Linked DNA regions of Homo sapiens: region 2 is linked to region 1. Evidence: promoter capture Hi-C in human tissues and cell types (Jung and others, 2019). All regions are on one chromosome and are shown on one strand. The core of a region is centred on a gene start or on the middle of the fragment in contact, and the rest is flanking DNA. Distances in the headings are between cores, read along the strand shown.

Region 1 (4,600 bases), core at 644-3,143:
CCTCCTGAGTAGCTGGGATTACAGGCACGTGCCACCATGCCTGGCTAACTTTTTTTGTATCTTTAGTCGAGACAGGGTTTCATCATGTTGGCGAGGCTGAGTCTCGAACTCCTGACCTCGTGATCCGCCCACCTCGGCCTCCCAAAGTGCTGGGATTACAGGCGTGAACCATGGCGCCCGGCCTAAATTCTTTAAAGAGGTTCAAGTCATTAGAAGCCTTCTCTCGATTTTTTGGTAATGCAGATGGCAAAGGGTGAAGGAGGTATAGGGTGGAAGAAAAGTAAACAAAAGAACAATTGAATTTTTTTTTTTTTTTTTTTTAATTTGAGACAGAGTCTCACACTGTAGCTCAGGCTGGAGTGCAATGGCTCGATCTCCACTCACTGCAACCTGCGCCTCCTGGTTCAAGCAATTCTCCTGCCTCAGCCTCCCGAGTAGCTGGGATTACAGGCACCCGCCACCATGCCCGGCTAATTTTTTTTGTATTTTCAGTAGAGACAGGGTTTCACTATGTTGGCCAGGCTGGCCTTGAACTCCTGACCTCGTGATCCGCCCGCCTCGGCCTCCCAAAGTGCTAGGATTACAGGTGTGAGCCACCGCGCCCGGCCTAAGAACAGTTTAATTTTTAAGACCAGGAAGCAAACACAGAAACCAAATACATGGTTTTTTGTTTTCTGTTTGTTTTTTCTTTTGCAGCTGTGAGGAATTTTACTCAAATTAGATAGGCCTTGTTACCCATAATTTGGAATTCTCACTTGGATTTGACCAAGTGAAGTAGAGTTGGTCAATGGGAAAAAGACAAACAAAATAAAAAAAAACCCAACAATATGATCACTGAGCACTCTAATGGTAAGCAGAAATTAAGACCAGCTGGTTGTTAACTTTAGCCAAGACAAAAATCCCTATTCAGCTACTTACCTAGGGGTGCGTCTCAGGCTGAAAACGGCTGTCTACCATCCCAGAAGTAGGAAAAAAACCCCTCATCTTCCCTGTTGGAAGTGAGCTCAAACTCCATAAAAGAGTTACCTGCCTTCCCTCGTCATGGAAGCAGGAAAACTTGCCTTCCTTGTTGGAAGCAAGTAAAACTCCAAAATAATAATAATAATAATAATAATAATAATAATAATAGAGGGAGTTGTACAACAAAATGAACTTTAGATCTCGACCAAATTTTGGGAGATCAGGGATTCTCTGGAGGGGGTGCTCCTAGACCTTAGCAAATTGTCCTGTTGGTTTGAGCCATGGAGTTAGCTCATGTTGGTACCAAGCATGGATAGGAGATTTGTCAAAGATCAGAGGTATCTCCACTCACAATCCCTCCGTGGTTACCATCCTTCATTCAGTAAATATTTACGGACTGATTACCATACACTAGGCACTATTCCAGACATTGGAGATACAATGATGAGCATAAAAAACGGTCTAGATAAGAACTGAGGTCTCCAGACATACTTTATGCCCACTCAGTTTTGTCTTTTGCCCTAGTTGCTAAACAAAACTTAACTTTGCTGTGCGGTGCGACTTCGTTAACTTAAAATTACAGGCTGTCAGCTATGACCGCTAGACTCTAAGAAAGTCCAGTGGAAATCCTTCAATGAAAAGAATCTGTTCTTGGGTGGAAGCCCCGCTCATGCAGGAGGAACAGAGGGCTTCCATTCTCGCGTCACACAACTGAGGGTCAACCCCTTGCTCCCTGCAGTAAGCCTGATTAGTGGGCGGAGCTTCCTTCAGGATCGCAAGAAAGAAAGGAGGAAGGGGACCCCGCCTCCTACGTGCTCGCGGGGGGGGGCGGGGTCGGTGGACTGGGCGTGAGTTAATTGGCTGGGGGGCGGGGCACCACGGGTTGGCTCCGCCCAGGCGCTCGCGCGGATCCCGGGTGGAATGACGGGAGGGAGTCCCGGCAGCTCCTACCTCCCAGCGATGGCGTCGCTGTGCCGCGCCCAGTCCCCAGCCTGCCGGCCGGTACTCACCGCTACCCGGAGTTCGCTCAGACGGTGAGATTTGGGGCGGGTCCGAGGCAGCGGCGGGACGCTACCTGCGACCGGGACCATGAGGAGCTGCCAGACCCGTGGGGCCGGTAACGAGAGCAGTCGCGGCACCTGCTGAGAGGAAAGAGGGAGCGGTCCGGCGCGGCTGGGGCGCGGCAGAGGCTTGCCCGATCCTCGGCCATGTCACTGCTCTGCGTGCGCGGTGAGTGCGCGGACTGAGGCGGGGAGGCGGGGTGTCGGCGTAGAGGTCCCCGCACCCTTCCAGTGGACGTCCGGTGACCGTCTCACCCAAACTTTACATCCCGTCCGTGCTTTGGGGGTCTATTATTTTGGCAATCACTTAACAATCACTTGAGTTCTTTCCACTTTCTTGTTTTCCCCCAAGCTCCTGCAAGGGACGATTAGCTCTCCATTCTGGTAGCCATGTGACAATGTTGTTGGACTGCAGGCTCAGATCCTATTAAACAGTGACTGGGGTTCTCTAGTGAGAGTGGACGAGTTAGAAGACCGCGGATGGTTGGTGCCTGTGAATGGTGGGCAGCCTCTCATTCTTTTCCTCCTCCTCGCACCGTAACGCTACAGTATGCTTAGTAGCAGGTTCTTTTTATCACACTTTGAATGCGTTAGTGGTACAGCTGTCACATCCCTTCTATTGCTTGTCTTGTCCCCTGCCACTTCCCTGAACACTAACCGGTAGTATAGGCTAAGATTATTCTTCTGTTCCACTTGGGAGGATGTGGTGACTGCTTTTGAGGATAAGAGGTATGATTTATTTTTATTTTTATTTTAGCTTGCCTCACAGTAACTCAAGGTGAAGGGCCATTATTGCTTTTCCCCTGAGGACACTTGACCCATCTAAGAAGATATCTTAAAGCAAGAGCTTTGGGGTTTAAGATGAGGCATGGTACGCGAACTAAGTTCTATGTGGGTAGAGACTGTTTCTTATTAGTTTTTGTATTCCTGGTGTCTGACGTAGTAGAAGCTTAATGCTGGTTTTGAATGAATGCAAGTACTGTGACTTCAGAGAGATTATCTGATCAGGAAAACACAGGGTTTGGATTAGCCATTGAATTTGATCTCGGGAAATTCAGGTTACAGCCTATCATATCTGATGTGTCTTGATTATGAATGAGAGAGCATTTATCAACTAGAGCCTTTACCTGATATCTTTTACTGGAGAGTTCATATTTCTTTTGGCTCTACAGATTAGAAGCATTGTTGTTGTTTGTGATTTCTCCAATAACGATGTTTCCCCCAGCTACTGGCAGATGAAACTGCTTTGCTCTGTTCTCTTCCACTATTTTGTTGAATCTGCATTAACCAAAATGGATTTGGCCATTTCCCGGGATTATGAGATATACAGTTTTTCTTCTTTCATGGTTGATTTTTCATTAATGAGAATTTTGCTTTGCTTTTAGTAAGACATTTTCTCTCAGCAGCTGGGAATCTATTTATTCCTTTAGATCCCTGCTGCTGAGTAGCAGGATTTGGGAGAGGTTGGACTTTGCTGTGTCTCTTGGACAGTTTAATTCTCTACGGCCACACTGTATTACAGAGCTGGTCCTTATGAAAGACTCTTTAGGCAGGAGCACTCGTGAATCAGAAATTCCTATTTAACTGAATTTATATAACTACTGGTGTTTTCATTTGTTTTAATAGCAGGCAGGTTTCATTGTCTAGAAATTCTGCTATTTAGCTAACTTCTTTCCTTTTTAATGTTACTTTAGTGAAGTTTCTTCTTTTTTGAATCTGGAGAAACGAGATCAGCAGGCCATTGTCTTTTTGAATAGAGATCTAGAAGATTTTAAATACTGAAACAAACAGGTACCTTATATGCAGATATTCATATTGAATGGCAAAGTATTCATTTTGGGAAAACTTACAGAAATGAATTGAAATACATCTTTATTTTTATTTCTTTTTCTTTTTTTGAGACAGAGTCTCATTCTGTCACCCAGGCTGGAGTGCAGTGCTGCGATCTTGGCTCACTGCAACCTCCACCTCCTGGGTTCAAGTGATTCTCATGCCTCAGCCTCCCGAGCAGCTGGAATTACAGGAGTGAACCACCAGGCCCGGCTAATTTTTGTATTTTTTGTAGAGACAGAGTTTCACTGTGTTGGCTAGGCTGGTCTTGAACTTCTGACCTCAAGTGATCCATCTGCCTTGGCCTTCCAAAGTGCTGGGATTAGAGGCATAATCCACTGCACCCAGCACAAAATACATCTTTCTAAAATGACATTCCTTGCGTTGTATTTTGGCAGTAGGAATGTTGTATTCTGAAAGCAGTCTATATAGTGATATTTATTACAACTCAATTTCAATTCATCTTGGAGTAGAATCAATTAGAAACTTCCTATGCAGAGTTCAAAAAGTAGTTAACTTGATGTAGAAATTGGCAAACTGGTATTGAATTAATCATTCCTAAACATTTCATTCAAGAAGTCAGTTATTTTGTCTTGCCCTTTAATCATGCCTTATTGCCTGCAGGTTTAAGGCTCTCAATACTCTGACTCCAGACTTGTGGCCTTCTATTCTTGCCTATCCTTATGCAGACTTTGCTCTAGCACTAACTTTGTTTATTCCTGCCTCTGCTCTGTTCTGCACTTGTGCCC
Region 2 (4,558 bases), core at 1,017-3,516, 310 kb before region 1:
TCTAGCCTATAAAGTTTCTGCTGAGAAGTCTGCTATTAGCCTTATTGAAACTCACATATGTGCTATGCTTCCTTTCTCTTGCTGCTTTCAGAATCCTGTCTTTGTTTTGTTTTTTAACAGTTTCATTATGATATGTTTTTGTATGTACTTGTTTAGATTGAATCTGACTGGAGACCTTTGGCTTTCCTGTACATGTGTATTTTTTGAGTTGGAGTCTCACTGTGTTGCCCAGATGGTCTTGACCTCCTTGGCTCAATTGATCCTTTTGAGTAGCTGGAATTACAGGTGTGCCCCACCACACCCAGCTCTGTACCTGGATAGTTACATATTTCCCTAGGCTTGGAAAGTTTTCTCCTATTATTTATTTAAATAAGCTTTATACCCCTTTACCTGTGATATCTGAATGGTGAGAGAGGGCATCCTTGTCTTGTGCTGGTTTTCAAAGGGAATGCTTCCAGCTTTTGCCCATTCAGCCTAATATTGGCTGTGGGTTTGTCATATATGGCTGTTATTATTTTGAGGTATGTTCCTTCAGTACCTAGTTTATTGAGAGTTTTTAACATGAAGAGATGTTGAATTTTATCAAAGGCCTTTTCTGCATCTGTTGAGATAATCATGTGATTTTTGTCTTTAGTTCTGTTTATGTGATGAATTAAATTTATTAATTTGTGTATTTTGAACTGACCTTGCATCCTGGGGATGAAGCCAACATGACCATGGTGGATAAGCTTTTTGATGTGCTGCTGGATTTGGCTTGCCAGTATCTTATTAAGGATTTTTGCGTTGACGTTCATTGGGGATATTGGCCTAAAGTTTTCTTTTTTTGTTTTGTCTCTGCCAGGTTTTGGTATCAGGATGGTGATGGCCTCATAAAACGAGTTAGGGAGGAGTCCCTTCTTTTCAATTGTTTGGAATAGATTCAATAGAAATGGCACCAGCTCGGCCGGGCGCGGTGGCTCACGCCTGTAATCCCAGCACTTTGGGAGGCCGAGGTGGGCGGATCACGAGGTCAGGAGATCGAGACCATCCCAGCTAAAACGGTGAAACCCCGTCTCTACTAAAAATACAAAAAATTAGCCGGGCGTAGTGGCGGGTGCCTGTAGTCCCAGCTACTTGGGAGGCTGAGGCAGGAGAATGGCGTGAACCCGGGAGGTGGAGCTTGCAGTGAGCCGAGATCCCGCCACTGCACTCCAGCCTGGGTGACAGAGCGAGACTCCGTCTCAAAAAAAAAAAAAAAAAAAGAAATGGCACCAGCTCTTCTTTGTACCTCTGGTAGGATTCAGCTGTAAATCTGTCTGGTCCTGAGCTTTTTTGGTTGCTAGGCTATTTGTTACTGCCTCAATTTTAGAACTTGTTATTGGTCTTTTTAGGGATTCAGTTTCCTCCTAATTTAGTCTTGGGAGGCTGTATGTGTCCAGGAATTTATCCATTTCTTCTAGATCTTCTAGTTTATGTGCATAGAGGTGTTTATAGTATTCTCTGATGGTTGTTTGTATTTCTGTGGGGTCAGTGGTGATATCTCCTTTATCATTTCTGATTGTGTCTATTTGGTTCTCTCTTTTCTTTATTAGTCTAGCTAGCAGTCTATCTATTTTTTTTTTTTTTTCAAAAAAAATCAGCTTCCAGATTCGTTGCTTTTTTGAAGAGTTTTTTTGTGTCTCTGTCTCCTTCAGTTCTTTTCTGATCTTGGTTATTTCTTGTCTTCTGCTAGCTTTGGGATTTGTTTGCTCTTGGTTCTCTAGTTCTTTTAGTTGTTATGCTAGGTTGTTGATTTGAGATCTTTCTAGCTTTTTGATGTGGGCATTTAGTACTATAAATTTCCCTCTTAACACTGCTTTAGCTGTGTCCCAGAGATTCTGGTACATTGTTTCTTTGTTCTCATTAGTTTCAAAAATAACTTCTTGATTTTTGCCTTAATTTCATTATTTACCTACGAATCATTCAGGAGCAGGTTGTCAATTTCCATGAAGTTGTGTGGCTTTGAGTGAGTTTCTTAAACTTGAGTTCTAATTTTATTATGCTGTAGTATGGGAGACTGTTTGTTATTATGTCAGTTATTTTGCATTTGCTGAGAAGTATTTTTCTTCTAATTATGTTTTCAATTTTAGAGTAGGTGCCATGTGGCAATGAGAAGAATATATATCCTGTCATTTTTGGGTAAAGAGTTCTGTAGATATCGATCAGGTCCACTTTATCCAAAGCTGAGTTCAGGTCCTGAATATCTTTGTTAATTTTCTGTCTTGATGATCGGTCTAATATTGTCAGTGGGATGTTAAAATCTCCCACTATTATTGTGTGGGAGTCTAAGTCTCTTTGAAGGTCTCTAAGAACTTGTTTTGTGAATTTGAGTGCTCCTGTATTGGTGTATGTATATTTAGGATAGTTAGCTCTTCTTGTTGAATTGAATGCTTTACCATATGTAATACCCTTCTTTGGCTTTTTTGATCTTTGTTGGTTTAAAGTCTGTTTTGTCAGAAACTAGGATTATGACCCTGGTTTTTTCTGTTTTCCATTTGCTTGGTAAAATTTCCCCCATCCTTTTATTTTGAGCCTATGTGTGTCTTTGCACATTAGATGGGTCTCTTGAAGACAGCATACCAATGGGGCTTGGCTCTTTATCCAGCTTGCCATTCTGTATCTTTTAATTGGGGCATTTAACCCATTTACATTTAAGATTAACATTGTTATGTGTGAATTTGATCCTGTCATCATGATGCTAGCTAGTTATTTTGCAGACTTGTTTGTGTGGTTGCTTAATAGTGTCATTGATCTGTGTACTTCAGTGTGCTTCTTTAGTGGCTGGTAACAGTTTTTCCTTTCCCTATGTAGTGCTTATTTCAAGAGCTCTTGCAAGGCAGGCCTGGTGGTGACGAATTCCCTTAACATTTGCTTGTCCTGAAAAGGATCTTATTTCTCCTTTGCTTATGAAGCTTAGTTTGGCTGGATATTAAATTCTGGGTTAGAAATTCTTTTCTTTAAGAATGTTGAATATTGGCCCCCAATCTCTTCTGGCTTATAGTGTTTCCACTGAGAGGTCCACTGTTAGCCTGGTGGACTTCCTTTGTAGATGACCTGGCCTTTCCTTCTGGCTGCTCTTAGCATTTTTTCTTTCATTTAAACCCTGGAGAATCTGATGATTATGTGTCTTGGGGTTGATCTTGTGGAGTATCTTACTGGGGTTCTCTGGACTTCCTGAATTTGAATGTTGGCCTGTCTTGCTAAGTTGGGGAAGTTCTCCTGGATGATATCCTGAAGCATGTTTTCTGACTTGTTTTCCTTCTCCTTGTCTCTTTCAGGTACCCTAATCAGTCATAGGTTCAGTCTTTTTACATAATCCCATATTTCTCAGAGATTTCATACATTCCTTTTCATTCTTTTTCTCTATTCTTGTCTGCCTGTCTTATTTCAGAAAGATAGTCTTCAAACTCTGAGATTCTTTCCTCTGCTTGATCTATTCTGCTGTTGATATTTGTGATTGCATTATGAAGTTCTTGTGTTGTGTTTTTTAGCTCTATCAGGTCAGCTATGTTTCTCTCTAAGCTGGATATTCTGGTTATCAGTTCCTGTATTGTTTTACCATGATTCTTAGCTTCTTTGTATTGGGTTGGAACATGCTTCTTTAGCCCAGTGAAGTTCATCATTACCCACCTTCTGAAGCCTACTTCTGTCATTTCAGCCTTCTCAGCCTCAGCCTAGTTCTGTGCCCTTGCTGGAGAGGTGTTGTGATCATTTGGAGAAGAGGCACTCTATCTTTTTGAGTTTTCAGTATTTTTGTGTTGATTCTTTCTCATCTTTGTGGGCTAATCTACATTCAGTCTTTGAGTTTGCTGACCTTTAAGTGGGATTATTGTGGGGTCTTCTTGTTGATGTTATTGTTGTTGTTGCTTTCTGTTTGTTTTTCTTTTAACAGTCAGGCCACTCTTCTGTAGGGCTGCTATGGTTTGCTGGGTGTGCACTCCAGACCCCAGTTGCCTTGGTCCCTCCTGCACCTAGAGGTATTACCAGTTAAGGCTGCAAAACAGCAAAGATGGCAGCCTGCTTCTTCCTCTAGGAGCTCCGTCCCAGGGGGGCACCAACCTAATGCCAGCCAGAATGCTCCTGTAGGAGGTGTCTGGAGACCCCTGTTGGGAGGTCTCACCCAGTCAGGAGGAATGGGATCAGGGACCTGCTTAAAGAAGCAGTCTGGCTGCCCCTTGGCAGAGCAGGTGTGCTGCACTGACTGCCTGGACTCTCCAGAGCCAGCAGGCTGTAAAGAATAAGTTGGCTGAACCACAAAGACAGTGGCTGCCCCTCCCGATGGGGACTCTATCCCAGGGAGAGATCAGAGTTCTGTACATATAGCCCTGGCTGGAGTTGCTAAAATTTCTGCAGGGAGGCACCACCCAGTGAGAAGGGATGGATCAGGGTCCCACTTAACAAAACTGACTGGCCACAGTCAGGTATAGCAGTTGTGTTGCATTGTGAGGAACTCCTCCCCATCCCTGGTGCCAGCAGGCTAGAACAGCTGACTCAAACCACAGAGATGGCGGCCACTCTTCCCCCTAGGAACTTGGTCCAT

The links. Contacts are between HindIII fragments. The study calls those that stand out against the background at their distance.
Region 2: a contact is called between a fragment that was not itself captured here and the fragment with the promoter of UNC13B in region 1, in 1 of the 25 tissues and cell types used here (bladder).

The regions. Positions count from the first base shown.
Region 1 is chr9:35,160,116-35,164,715 of GRCh38, forward strand. UNC13B (unc-13 homolog B) reads left to right here and starts at 1,894. Exons shown (of 40, transcript NM_001371189.2): 1 at 1,894-2,190. The coding sequence starts at 2,169. RefSeq lists a silencer at 1,760-1,889. The HindIII fragment of the contact is 10,387 bases long and covers 1-4,600 here.
Region 2 is chr9:34,852,606-34,857,163 of GRCh38, forward strand. It overlaps a transcript of PHF24 not described here. Among named protein-coding and RNA genes, the nearest start is that of SPATA31F3, 41 kb to the right of the region's middle. The HindIII fragment of the contact is 5,500 bases long and covers 1-4,558 here.